Regions from separate parts of the Homo sapiens genome. Here regions 2 and 3 are each linked to region 1. The links are contacts of gene promoters, found by promoter capture Hi-C in human tissues and cell types (Jung and others, 2019). All regions are on one chromosome and are shown on one strand. The core of a region is centred on a gene start or on the middle of the fragment in contact, and the rest is flanking DNA. Distances in the headings are between cores, read along the strand shown. Region 1 overlaps ZNF547 (zinc finger protein 547). Region 2 holds the start of ZNF773 (zinc finger protein 773). Region 3 holds the start of ZNF530 (zinc finger protein 530).

Evidence for each region. Contacts are between HindIII fragments. The study calls those that stand out against the background at their distance.
Region 2: the fragment with the promoter of ZNF773 here is called in contact with a fragment that was not itself captured in region 1 in 2 of the 25 tissues and cell types used here (dorsolateral prefrontal cortex and liver).
Region 3: a contact is called between the fragment with the promoter of ZNF530 here and a fragment that was not itself captured in region 1, in 7 of the 25 tissues and cell types used here (bladder, dorsolateral prefrontal cortex, heart left ventricle and 4 more).

Annotation. Positions count from the first base shown.
Region 1 is chr19:57,368,493-57,372,945 of GRCh38, forward strand. It overlaps ZNF547 (zinc finger protein 547), which reads left to right. Exons shown (of 4, transcript NM_173631.4): 2 at 52-87; 3 at 3,290-3,416. The coding sequence starts at 64. Among named protein-coding and RNA genes, the nearest start is that of ZNF547, 7.2 kb to the left of the region's middle. The HindIII fragment of the contact is 8,803 bases long and covers 1-4,453 here.
Region 2 is chr19:57,497,889-57,502,093 of GRCh38, forward strand. It overlaps ZNF773 (zinc finger protein 773), which reads left to right and starts at 2,050. Exons shown (of 4, transcript NM_198542.3): 1 at 2,050-2,225. The coding sequence starts at 2,193. The HindIII fragment of the contact is 9,164 bases long and covers 1-4,205 here.
Region 3 is chr19:57,597,223-57,601,285 of GRCh38, forward strand. ZNF530 (zinc finger protein 530) reads left to right here and starts at 2,663. Exons shown (of 4, transcript NM_001321981.2): 1 at 2,663-2,912; 2 at 3,506-3,557. RefSeq lists enhancers at 2,711-2,920, 3,011-3,130. The HindIII fragment of the contact is 9,316 bases long and covers 1-4,063 here.

The DNA of each region.
Region 1 (4,453 bases), core at 1-2,500:
GTAAGATCTTCCCATCGTTGCCCATTTCTCACGGTTTCCCTCTTCCTTCAGGGTCCCCTGGCGATGGCAGAAATGAACCCTGCACAGGTGAGTGGAGTGTTTTCTACCTTTCACCTACCAGTTATCTCATAGATGGTTTTGGCACCTCCATGTAAAGAAAAGTGGTGTCCAGAGACTCTCTTTCTGTCTTTCTCCCTCTCTTATGTCTGAAAAGTGAGTGATTCCACCAGTTCTAGTATCTTAAATTAGGTCTGGGATTTTTGTTTGATTGTTTTAAGTTTACTGTGACACCTTACCTGGATGGCCCTGGATTATGTGGAGTGGCTCCCATTTTTGACAGTTGACGTGGTAACATCTGTCAGAGTGTCATGGGCACAAGATTAAGAATGTTTCAGTGTTTAGAGGAGAGACTGAACTGGATTTTTAGGGAACTGCAAGTGTCTGTTATATCGGATAGGAATAGGGAGCAGAGTGGGAGGTGGCTAGAGACACACAAACATCAGGCCTGGAATGACAGCCTAGGTCCTGGGTCTCTAATCTAAGGGAGGTGGTAGATGGGGAAGATTTGAAGCAGAAGAGGGCAGTGATAGGACCCTAGCTTAAGGAACTTTCTTTGGCGTCTGAGTGGAGGACAGACTGTGGAGGTGAGGGTAATGGCAGGGAGATCTGAGAGGATGTTCCTGCAGCAGTCTAGGTGGATGTTGGTGGTGACTTGTCAAGAGTAGCGGTGGCTTCAGGATGTGTTTTGAACTGGAGCTGCCCACATTTTATGATGTAGAGAGTGAGGCAGCTGGGGGGGTGGGATAGAAGGGGAATCAGGAGTGGCCCCATGGTTTTTGTTTGGAAGCATAGATGCTCCATCAGCTAAGATGGGAGAAGTCAGCAGTATTAGGAATTTTCAGAGTGAGTGTGAGGAGTCAGTGTTTGTTCAAGCCACAGATGTCTCAGAGACTCCTGGTGGAGGAGTTCAGGTTGGAGACGTCCACACTATGGTGGCTGTCGTATGGACCAGGATGAAGCCATGGATTCAGTTTAGGTGACAGCATCTCTAGGTTATGGTGGCAGTGCTGTTCGAAGACAGAGAATTGGAATGGGGCATGAGAACTGGGTCTCTTACTGGGTAGCTGTGCAGTGGTGGAGGAGTCACTAGACAAATGAGGGAATGGAGTGTTTGTGGGGATGAGTGTATGTGAGATGGTGGGGTATAGGAGTGAGAAAGACTTCTGAAGGAGAGTGGACATGATGGGGTTGCTGAGGAGGGTAATAGGGTGAGGTCGGAGAGTTGCTAAGCATCAGTTGGAATGAGATGAGGATGGGAATTCTATTAGTCTGTTTTCATATTGCTACAAAGAACTACCTGAGACTGGGTACTTTATGAAGAAAAGAAGTTTAATTGACTCACAGTTCTTTTTTTTTTTTTTTTTTTTTTTTGAGATGTGGCCCAGGCTGGAGTGCAGTGGCACAATCTCGGCTCACTGCAATCTCTCCCTGCCAGGTTCAAGCGATTCTTCTGCCTCAGCCTCCTGAATAGCTGGGACGACAGACTCACCCCACTACGCCCAGCTAATTTTTGTATTTTTAGTAGAGATGGGCTTTCACCATGTTGGCCAGGATGGTCTTGATCTCCTGACCTCGTGATCCATCCTCCTCAGCCTCCCAAAGTGTTGGGATTACAGGCGTGAGCCACCGCACCCAGCCCATAGTTCTTCAGGCTTAACAGGAAGCATAACTCGGAGGCCTCAGGAAACTTACAATCCTGTGTCCATGAGGCAGGACACAGCTGAGAGTATGTGAAGTCCTCACATGGTTTGGGCACCTGACAGTGAAGTGAGAAACAGGGCCATGTAGGGAACCTTCAACCCAGGGCTTAGGGCTGCCCCCGGTGCTAGGGAACTTTGGTGTTCTGGGGCAGGACTGGGAGTGAATTGGATGCTGAGCGTATTTGCCGTGCACCACCTGGTTTCTGTGTGCAGAGTGGCCTGTTAGGAGGTGAAGGAAATGCCTGTGGTGTGGGCTGGGAGGTGTCTGTGGAATTGACTGGAGTGGAGGTGTGAGAGATGGGATTGGAGTGCTGTCCAAAGAGTGATGTGCAGGCAGGAGGAGTGTGAATGGAGGGCCTCAGGCCCTGGCCCTGGTAGCTCAAGGGAGGAGGATGAGTCTGAGTTTGGTTGTCTTGGGAGGCAAGATCTGGGTGACTCCATGGAAACTGGCTGGCAGGAGAGGATGGATCCCCCCACGGGAGGCCCACATTCCTTTTCTACCTTATCTTCCATCTGTTTCCTCTGTGTGCTGGACACGGTGGCCAATGTCAATATGGAGAGAAAAGTCACTCATGCCACCTGGATGTGGTTTCTCTTCCACATTGGGAGGGTGTAGAGATTGAGGAAGGAAAGGAGGTGTAGGGGAGAGGGATGAGTTCCTGGAGAGAGAAAAGTAGCAGTGATTGTACCCATTGGGGTTTTTTGTTTTTTTTTTTTTAGATGGAGTCTTGCTGTGTTGTCACCCAGGCTGGAGTGCAGTGGCATGATCTTGGCTCACTGCAACCTGCACCTCCTGGATTCAAGCAGTTCTGCCTCAATCTCCCAAGTAGCTAGGACTACAGGCATGTGCCGCCATGCCCACCTAATTTTTGTATTTTTAGTAGAGATGGGATTTCACTGTGTTGGCCAGGCTGGTCTTGAACTCCTGACCTCAGGTGATCTGCCCGCCTCAGCCTCCCAAAGTGCTGGGATTATAGGCATGAGCCACTGTGCCTGGCCCCCATGGAGTTTTAATTTATGGATGTGAGTGAGTGATGCCAGGGACAGGCCAATGACACTGAAAGAAGATATTTATTCCTTACGTTTCCCTAAGGAGGTTACATACCACATAACACAGGGCCACACGGTGAAACACCAGATTTGATCAGGAGGAAAATTGGAGTGAGTTTAGTTTAGTCCACAGATGCTGTTGGGGTTTCCAAGGGAAACAAGGCAGGGCTGGCTGTCAGGATAGTTTGGCTAGTTTTAGTAATTCCAGGACACCTGGGCTATTGGGACTGTCCCTAGTTGTGCAGTACCTGTCCCTGGGTTGATTTAGAGCATGGGAAATACTGACTTGGTTTGAGAAAGTTAGAGATGGAGATGGTTAAGAATATGTGCCCAGGATGGTAGGGGAGATGGAAACACATTTAGCTGTTAGTTTGTCCCTGTGTTTAATGGGTGGTAAATATAAGTAGAAAATAAATAGAGAACTTAAGTAAATACAGTTTGAAAAGCTGCTCATGTATTCATCTTTCCCAATTTGGCAGGGTCATGTGGTTTTTGAAGACGTGGCCATATATTTCTCCCAGGAGGAGTGGGGGCATCTCGATGAGGCTCAGAGATTGCTGTACCGTGATGTGATGCTGGAGAATTTGGCCCTTTTGTCCTCACTAGGTAAGGCCCTCACACTTGCCCAGTGTCCTGGGTTGGGCTGTGTTGTCTCCTTTTACCTGAAGGCAGCTCTGCGTTTCCCACAGTGAGACCATGGGTGCTGCTTCTTTTCCTTGTTTCCTGACATATGTTCCATGAGAGTCAGGACTGCAATATGTGCTGTGTGCTTCCTTTTTCCTGGCAGCCCCATCCTCTGCTGTTCTGAGGCTTGCAAGAAAGGGCTCAGGATCCAGAAATGTTGAAGGTGACATAGAGACCCACTGGCCCTGTGTTCTATTCAAATGCATGAGACCTCTGTGCTCTGTTGTTCCCTTGCTCTTGCCAATATTTCTTGGTCCCTTCTTGTTCCTGGAATTTCTGGCACTGACCTGATCACTAATTTGGTGAACCACTGGCTTGATTGTGTAGGATGTAGAAATCTTCTGTGAAGTTCTGGTGATTATCGAATGTGAGATATCATCAGGTGATCTCTCTGGGAATGTGCTGTCTTGTCTCTTTCTGTGTCTTTCCCCTAGGACTGGTCTCTTTCAGGTCTCACAGACTGTCACCTTAAGCAATGGGGAGGGCCCTGGTACCCAAGAGGGTGGATATTACTCCCTGAAGGGCTGTAGAGACTCAGAGGGACATGATCCTGGTTCCTGGGAGTTGGGAAAAGGTGTAATATCACAGCTGGGGTCATATTACTAGGAATCTGTCTGGTGACCCCTGTTGTTTAGTTGAAGACTGGTTGCCACAACTCACTCTTCTTTTCCTTCCCCCGTTGTCATTTTTACTCTGACTTCTAATCCCTGGCTTCCAGCCGTTACCTATTTTCTTCAACTGCTCCCTCTGCAGTGCCATCCACTGCATGACCTGTACTTAAGGTGAGGTCTGCATGTATTTGTCAGTAGTCCCTGAACACCATCTCCTCTGTCACAATCAGATCTCTCTGGGTTTAGACACAGCCTTCTACACACTGCTCACTAGTCACCAGCAGCCATGGCCTGTGGAAAGCCATTTGCAGAGAAGTGACTTGGAGACCCTCCTCCTCTCTGCACTGT
Region 2 (4,205 bases), core at 800-3,299, 130 kb after region 1:
GAATAATCAATTATGGTATATCTTAACATAAAATACCATTCAACAACATAAAAGAATAAACTATGAATACAAGTAAAAATATCATAGATAAATCTGAAAATCCCTGAGCCAAGTGGAAGAAGCCAGACACAAAAGTTGACATACAGTATGATTCCATTTATATGAAATGAAGAAGCTGCAAAACTAGAGTAAAAGAATGCAGATCACTGGTTATTGAGCCTGCGGTCTGAGGGGGAAGGTTCTGACTGAAAGAGTACAGGAAAACGTTATCAGGCAATGGTAATTTTCTCTATCATGACTGTGTTGGTGGTTTCATGACAGTACAGCTGACCCTTAAATAACACAGGTTTGAAATGCACAGGTCCAATTATATGTGAATGTTTTTCAATAAATATACTGGAAAAAATTTTTGAATATTTGAGACAATTTCAAAAAACCAGAATTCATTGAAATAGGTATGCCAAGAATGCATAACACAAAATATATGTAGGTTCTATTTTATCATTACAAAACCAGAGCGATATTTTCTTTTCTTTTTTTTTGTTTTTGAGACGGATTCTCTCCCTGTCGCCCAGGCTGGAGTGCAGTGGCATGAACTCCACTCACTGCAAGCTCCACCTCCCGGGTTCATGCCATTCTCCCGTCTCAGCCTCCCGAGTAGCTGGGACTACAGGCACCTGCTACCACACCCGGCTAATTTTTTGTATTTTTTAGTACAGACGGGGTTTCACCGTGTTAGCCAGGATAGTCTCGATCTCCTGACCTTGTGATCCACCCGCCTTGGCCTCCCAAAGTGCTGGGATTACAGGCGTAAGCCACCACCTCCCTACTCTTTCTACCCAATAAATATGAAGGTCTGTGGAAGCTCAGGGCCCTTCCTCACTAGAAGCAAGAAGCCCCCTGACCCCTTCTTTAAAACAGATTTATTTTGCCTTTGTTTTCATTTCTGCATTCGTTCCCCTTCGTTCAGTCCCATAGTAACTGTGACAGGAATATGGAGCAGAAATGGATGAAGGGGAGAAATTGAGGGGGAGTTGGCTTATGGGTTTGCTGCCTGTTGTTGTGCCTTTACACCAATGTTGGGTCCTTGAGGAAGGAAAGAACACAAATGAGAATGGGGTGAAAGAGGAACGTAAATCCTTGGGCTCCCCTACTCTCTCATCACCTACATCCAGAATTCAGAGCCTTTTCTTATTATCATACATCAGGCATTAATATTGGGTGTCCCCTTGCCAAAGGAAATTTAGGAAGGTATACGTGGCTTTGCCCAGTGAAACCTCTTTATGGTGGCCCTGAAGATCCTCTTCAAGTCCTTCAAAAGAAGGAAAGATTGGAGTATCAGCTGCAGGAAACTGAAATCCAGGCCCATCTCCAATTACAACAGGTTCCAGATGAGTCCGAGAGTTCTCGACACTCATTTCTCCTCCATCTCCTACTCCATCATCTCCATCTCCATCTTCTCCATCATCTCCATCTTCATCATCATCTCCATCTCCATCATCTCCATGTCCATCATCATCTCTATCTCCATCATCTCCATCTCCATCATCTCCATCTCCATCATCATCTCTATCTCCATCATCATCTCTATCTCCATCATCTCCATCTCCATCATCTCCATCATCTCCATCTCCATCTCCTACTCCATCATCTCCATCTCCATCTTCTCCATCATCTCCATCTTCTCCATCATCTCCATCTTCTCCATCATCTCCATCTTCATCATCTCCATTTCCATCATCTCCATCTCCATCATCATCTCTATCTCCATCATCTCCATCTCCATCATCTCCATCATCTCCATCTCCATCTCCATCTCCATCATCTACCGTCTCCAATCTCCATCTCCGAAGTTATGCCCACTTCCTCGAAGTTTGGAGCCACGCGAACTACACTGCCCAGAAGGCGCCGCGCCGTGAGCCGCGATGCTTGGCCAATGAAAAGAGGTCTACCCGAGAGTGCGACGCGCAATGGGCGGGACTTCCGGCGTCTCCCCTCGGCGGTTGCTTTCGCTGCCCTCAAGAGAACTCAGCTTGCCGGAAGCTGGTTGTTCGCTGCGGCGACCAGCTCCGGAAAGCGCGGTGGGGACGCGCTGTGTTCTCGCAGCTCAGAGGCGGGTCTGAGGCTCGGTGGCGGCGCCCAGGGTGGCCCGGGCCCTTTCCTCGGTCGTTGTCTCACCGCCACAGGCTCCGATGGCGGCGGCCACGCTGAGGGACCCCGCTCAGGTGAGCGCCGCGTCCTCCCGGCCTCCCCCGAATCCTAAAGCCCTGTGAGGGCCGCCTGCTCAGGTCCCCGGGTGCAGAACTGTGGGGCGTTCGTGGGCGGCGTCCCGTTTCTGACACGCAGTGTGATGGGGTGGCAATGGAGGGCAAGGGGCCCGGCTCGCAAAGATGTGAGGCGCATTCAGCGAGTCCCGAACCTGAGGCCTCCTGGTGTCTGTAGTGGGCAGCTTGGGAAGGGACGAGGCGCGTGTCGAGCGACAGCCCGAGCAGCTGCGCTTTCATCCTGAGGGGGCCACAGTGGCCGCGGAGGGCTGGAGACAGAAGAGTGACAAGATCTGTTTCTCAAAGTTTGCCAAAGGCCCTTCAAGTCAAAACAGACTGGGGTGGGGGTGAGGCGGGTGAAGACAGACCTGTGAGTAGGTAAATTCAGTAGACTAGTGGAGAGTCTACTGGGACTGGGCCACAGAGGAGGGGAAGTGATCAGATCTTGGATGGATTTCAAAAACTGAACAGACGGGAATTCCTGTTGCATCAGATGTGACTGTGAAAGAAAGTAGGGAATGAAGAGCCATTCTGGATTTTTATTTGTATTTTTGTTTGTTCCTGAATATCAGGAAGGATGGAGATGGGTAAGGCTGTGCAGGGAATAGGTTTTGGGCATGGTGATCCTGAGATGTCCCAGAGTGGAGGTGTCATGTCCACATGAGCAGCTGGAAGGCCTGGGGCTCGTATTTAGGAGGGAGAATCTTAAAGTTTTCTTTCAGATGGTCCCTGAGGTGAGGGAAGGGAGAGATGGGCCTGTAGGATGGGGCAGCCTCTACAGCCTGGAGTTTCGTGGTCCGAAGTGATTTTGTCTGGTGCCTGCAGGAATGGAGGGTTATAGAGTATGAACACCCAGGACTGGATGGAGACCGCAGTGTTGGGTAGTATATAGGTTTGCCACTCCAGGCTTAGTAGTTCCTCATGTCCAGTCCATATGGAGAAAAGGAAAGGTCAGCCAGGCTGGTGGAGCAGCACCTTTGGTGCCTAAGTTTCCCTAGCTATCAGCACAGGTGGGATGATCAACTGCTCCAGTAGAAGGGAGGGCTCTCAGCAGGATGGTCTTCAGGGGAGTATATAGCAGGCAGCCAGATTGCCAAAAGGAAACCCACATTGTCTTTCTTTTTCTTTCTTTTTTTTTTTTTTTTGAGACAGAATTCTGCTCTTGTGATCTGCCCACCTCGGCCTCCCAAAGTGTTGGGATTACAGGCTTGAGCCACTGCACCCAGGCAGAAACCCACATTTTGAAAACCTACCAGTTTATTTGCACTGAAAATGTTGACAGAAGCATTAATTATGTGTACAGTAAGAGTTGATATTTAGTCCTAGACACATAAGAATGAGTTTGATACAAACAATAGTCCTATTGAGTGAATACCATTATTGCCATGTTGCAGATGGCAATACCAAGGCACAGGGAAGTTGAGCATTTTTCCAAGGGCACACAACAGGTAAGAGGCATCACTAAGAACCAAAGCCCAGATTGCAGATAGTCAGGCACACCTGACTCCAGGCTAGACGAGGGGGCTTGGATGATCCTTTGGTAACATCACTGTCTGGTTCTCATGGTCTTGATTTTCCATAGGTTCTTGTGACTTCAGAGTTAGTTATAGACCATGAGAAGGTAAGTGGAGGATGTCTCAGGCCCTCACCCTCCTCAACTCCTACCTACATGGTCTTCAGAATTATGGTGTCTTGGGACTCCTTGCTGGCTATTCTCCCTCCCCTTCCATTTGAGTTCCCTGCAAAATGGTCATACAGTCAGGGTCCTGAGTCCAGACTACATATTATTATTTATTTATTTATTTTTGAGACGGAATTTAGCTCTTGTTGCCCAGGCTGGAGTGCAATGGTACAATCTCGGCTCACCGCAACCTCCACCTCCCAGGTTCAAGCGATTCTCCTGTCTGAGCTTCCCAAGTAGCTGGGATTACAGGCACGTGC
Region 3 (4,063 bases), core at 1,413-3,912, 230 kb after region 1:
TGTGCCACTGCACTCCAGCCTGGATGACAGAGTGAGACCCTGTCTCTAAAAAAATTAAAATTAACTAATTTGCAAATTAGTTTAAAATATGTATTTTGCAATGTTTGTGCTGTGTATTTGTATAACTCAAGGGAGATTAATTTTAACAAATTGAATTTGGCAAGCCAGTTATTTCCATGAGCAGCCTAGTTAATTTATCTACTTAAACAACAAAAACAAGTAGATACACAGATTTTCTGGCACTTTCCAAGCTCACTATTTCCCTACTTTGACTATTGGCCTAAGAAATTGCCATAAGAGCTGTGTGTACCTGTAGCCCCAGCTACTTGGGAGGCTGAGGCGGAAGGATCACTTGAGACCAGGAGTTTTAAACCAGCCTGGGCAACATAGCAAGAACCCTGTCTGTAAAAAAAAAATATATATATATTTTAAAAATTAGCTGGGCACAGTAGTGAGTGCCTGCAATCCCATATACTCAGGAAGCTGACACAGAAATGTCGCTGAAGCCGAAGAGTTTGAGGCTGCAGTAATCTATGATCCTGCCACTGCACTCCAGCCTGGGCAACAGAGCAAGACTCTTCCTCAAAAAAAAAAAATTACCATTAGACACTCAAATATGCAGGCAAAATGAGTCCTTTGTGGAGTCACTCAGAAGGGCTCCCCACTTACCTTTCTATATGAAATCATGCTGGAGCCACACCTTCTCCCTTTCCTTTTCAGACAGGACTTAAATTCAGCAACTGAAGAGCTATCTGCTCTATGTGTCTTCAGGGTAAACATTTCCAGAGCCAAGCCAAATGTACTTATAGACTTATATATGACTGCACTAAAAAAAGCAAAGTAAGTCTATGTTCAGTTCAATTAATTATGTTCAATATTCTTTTTTTTTTTCTCTCTACTGAGATGGAGTCTCACTCTGTCACCAGGCAGGAGTGCAGTGGTGTGATCTCGGCTCACTGCAACCTCCACCTCCTGGGTTCAAGCGCTTCTCCTGCCTCAGCCTCCCAAGTAGCTGGGACTACAGGCGCACGCCACCACACCCAGCTAATTTTTGTATTTTTAGTAGAGACAGGGCTTCACCATGTTGGCCAGGCTGGTCTTGATCTCTTGACCTCATGAGCCACCTGCCTTGGCCTCCTAAAGTGCTGGGATTACAGGCATGAGCCACCGCGCTTGGCCTAGCCACAAGATTATTAATAGTTGTGACGTATAATGTTTTGTGTCGACTTGCCTGCATTAAGGGCTACCCAAATAGTTGGGAAAACCTTAGTACAGGATATGTCTGTGAGAATGTTTATGGAAGATATTAGCAGTTGAGTCTGTAGACAATGTAAAGGAGATCTGGCCTCATCAGTGTTAGGGGCCAACATCCAATGCTTTGAGAGCCAAGATAGAACAAAAAGGCAGAGAAAGAGCAAGTTACTCTCTTCTTGCCCTGGATCATCCACCTTCTGTTTTCCAACATTAAAGTTCTTGGATCTTGGGCCTTTGGACTCTGGAACATACAAGAATGACCCTCACCCAGTTCTCAGGCCTTCAGCCTCCAACTGGGAATTTCACCATAGGCTCCCTTGGTTTTCAGGCCTTCAGATGCAGACTGAATGATACCACCCACCTTCGTGTCTTACCAGGTTGCAAAAGGTATATCCTGGGACTTCTTAGCCTCCATAACTGGATGAGCCAAGTCCCATAATAAATCCCCTCTTGTACATCTATGTATCCTATTGGTTCTGTGTTTCTCTGGAGAATCCTGACTAATACAATAGGTTTCAGTAATTTTCATTTCACAACTGTTTTTCTAAGATGATCTCAACTCCCCATGCAAGCACTGTCCCTGCAGTAACAGTATCAATGATCAAAATTTCCCATCAAAGAGATGAAAGCTAGGTGTCCCAAACCTTTATTCTGGTATTCTGATGTCCCCTTTGCACAAGTGCTCTGACTGTGAACACTACAGACACTGTTCTACTTTAAAATGGCATATGCTAAGTGGCTCTTCTGTTTAGAAAGTTGCTACAATCCTAAAAGAAGCATATCTAAGAATATGGAGGAAGAAATATTATATGAATACAACACTGTTCCTTACAGGGCTAGACACACTCACCGATTACACAGGCAGGAGAGGCATTTTCTGTGAGACAAAATTCCTCTTTCGTCCTCCAGCTTCGGTGCGATCTAACGGATGTTTTATCATTCCTGTCATGGCGCTATGTAAACTCTATTTCCCTTATTCCTTACTGAGCATAATGAAACTCACAAAGCTGACTCTAACGTTCTACTTTACATAAATGTGTGGAGAAAGAAGGTAATGTTTACTAGGCTCTCGCCAAGGGTAGAGGCATTTTGTATCTGAATAACTCTGACTACCTAGGTGACTAGTTGTACACAATACCCTCCAAAAATCTCTGTATGGTACCTTAAAAAAGCAGCGAAGCTCCTCCCTTGTCCAAGGAGGCTGGAGACACCACCTCTCAGCCTTCCCCTCCACCTTTCTCCATAGCAACGGGGTCATTCCTCCCTGAGGTCCAGGAGAAGGGCGACCTCTGCCAGCCCAAGAAGCGGTGAGAACTACATTACCCAGAGGCCCGTGAGCCAGGTTCTTGGCGTGGAGCCAATGAGGCTCAGGGGAGGGACATTTCCGCTCTGTCCAACTTGTCGGAGCGGAACTTCCGGCGTCCTCCCTGTGGCGGGCACTTTGGCTTGTGTCAGTTCCATCCGCGGGTGCCGGATCTGGACCTAGGTGCTGACAGCGAGAAGGCGCGAGGAGAGTCGTTTTCTCAGCTGCACAGCCGGGGCCTGACGGTCGCCGGCGGTGGTGACAGCTTTGCTCTTGTCTCCGCCCGGATCGTCCACCGCTCCCGGCCCGCTCCGCCCAGAGTCCGATGGCGGCGGCACTGAGGGCCCCGACCCAGGTGAGCGCTGCGTCCTCCCGGCCTCCTCTGCCCTCCCCACCCGAAACTGAGGGACGCGTGAAGGGTTTTCTGCAGCCCGGACCGCACTGTCCGGCACAGTGAGGCGCTGGTGCTGGATCTCGTTTCTGGTAGTGTGGCAGGGAGCGGGAGAGCGACACGGTCAGGGGGCTGCGCGGGCAACAGCTTGGAGCTGCGCCTGAGCCGGGAGGCTGGGGAGACCCAGGCCGGCCTCACGCGTGCAGGTAGCAGAGGGTGGGGCAGCGCCGCGCTGCATTGGCCCCACTGAGTTTCACCAGCACACTGAGGGCCACAGCGCGTAGGACAGAAGAGGGGCACGGCCCCAGTCACGCTTCTAAAAGTTTCACAAAAGCTGTTCAGAGGAACGCGCTGGAAGGGCAGTGATGATAGCAGGCATGGAGGGACCTAGTCTTTTTACGAGGTCACAAAGCTGGTAAAAGTCAGCACCAAGGACTGACACCCAGATACAAAGCAGTCATCCCTGGACACCTGGCTCTGGTGTTCCACATTGGAACCAGAAGTCCATGGAGCCACACTTTGGTCACCTGCCTCTCAGAACATGTTTCCTCCCACAGATTGCCACTAGTACTTACAGGTCCGTAAGAAGCACTTGAAGACCCTACAAGGGTAAGTGGAGGAAATCCAGAAGCTCATTGATTCCAGCAATGGGATCTCTAGGATTGGGACTGTGGTGACCTGGGATTCTTTACTTACCGCTTTTCCAGGCCTTGAGCCTAGGGACTCTGAACAAAAATATGTCCAGGGTGAGTATTATATGAGGTGGTGCCTGTTGCTGGCAAATAATAGGATGAATGTGGAAGTTTGTCCCAGAGATAAGTACAGGTGTTTGGAGCTGCTTGGAGGTGAGGCTGAGCTGGTTAAGAGAACCTCAAGTCTCATTTCCTTCTCATGGGAACAGAGAGCAGAGGTACAGGAGTTAGAAACTAAATGGCTGTCTCAGATGTCTTTGTTCTGGAGATGATGGCAGCAATGAAGATTTGGAGCAGAAGAGGGAGGTGATCTTCCCCAGGCCTCATGAGGCTCCTGTGGCTGAGCACAGACAACAGACTGTGGGTTTAAGGGAGTTGGTAGCAATACCAAAGAGGAAAGAGGAGACTACTGCAATAGTCCAG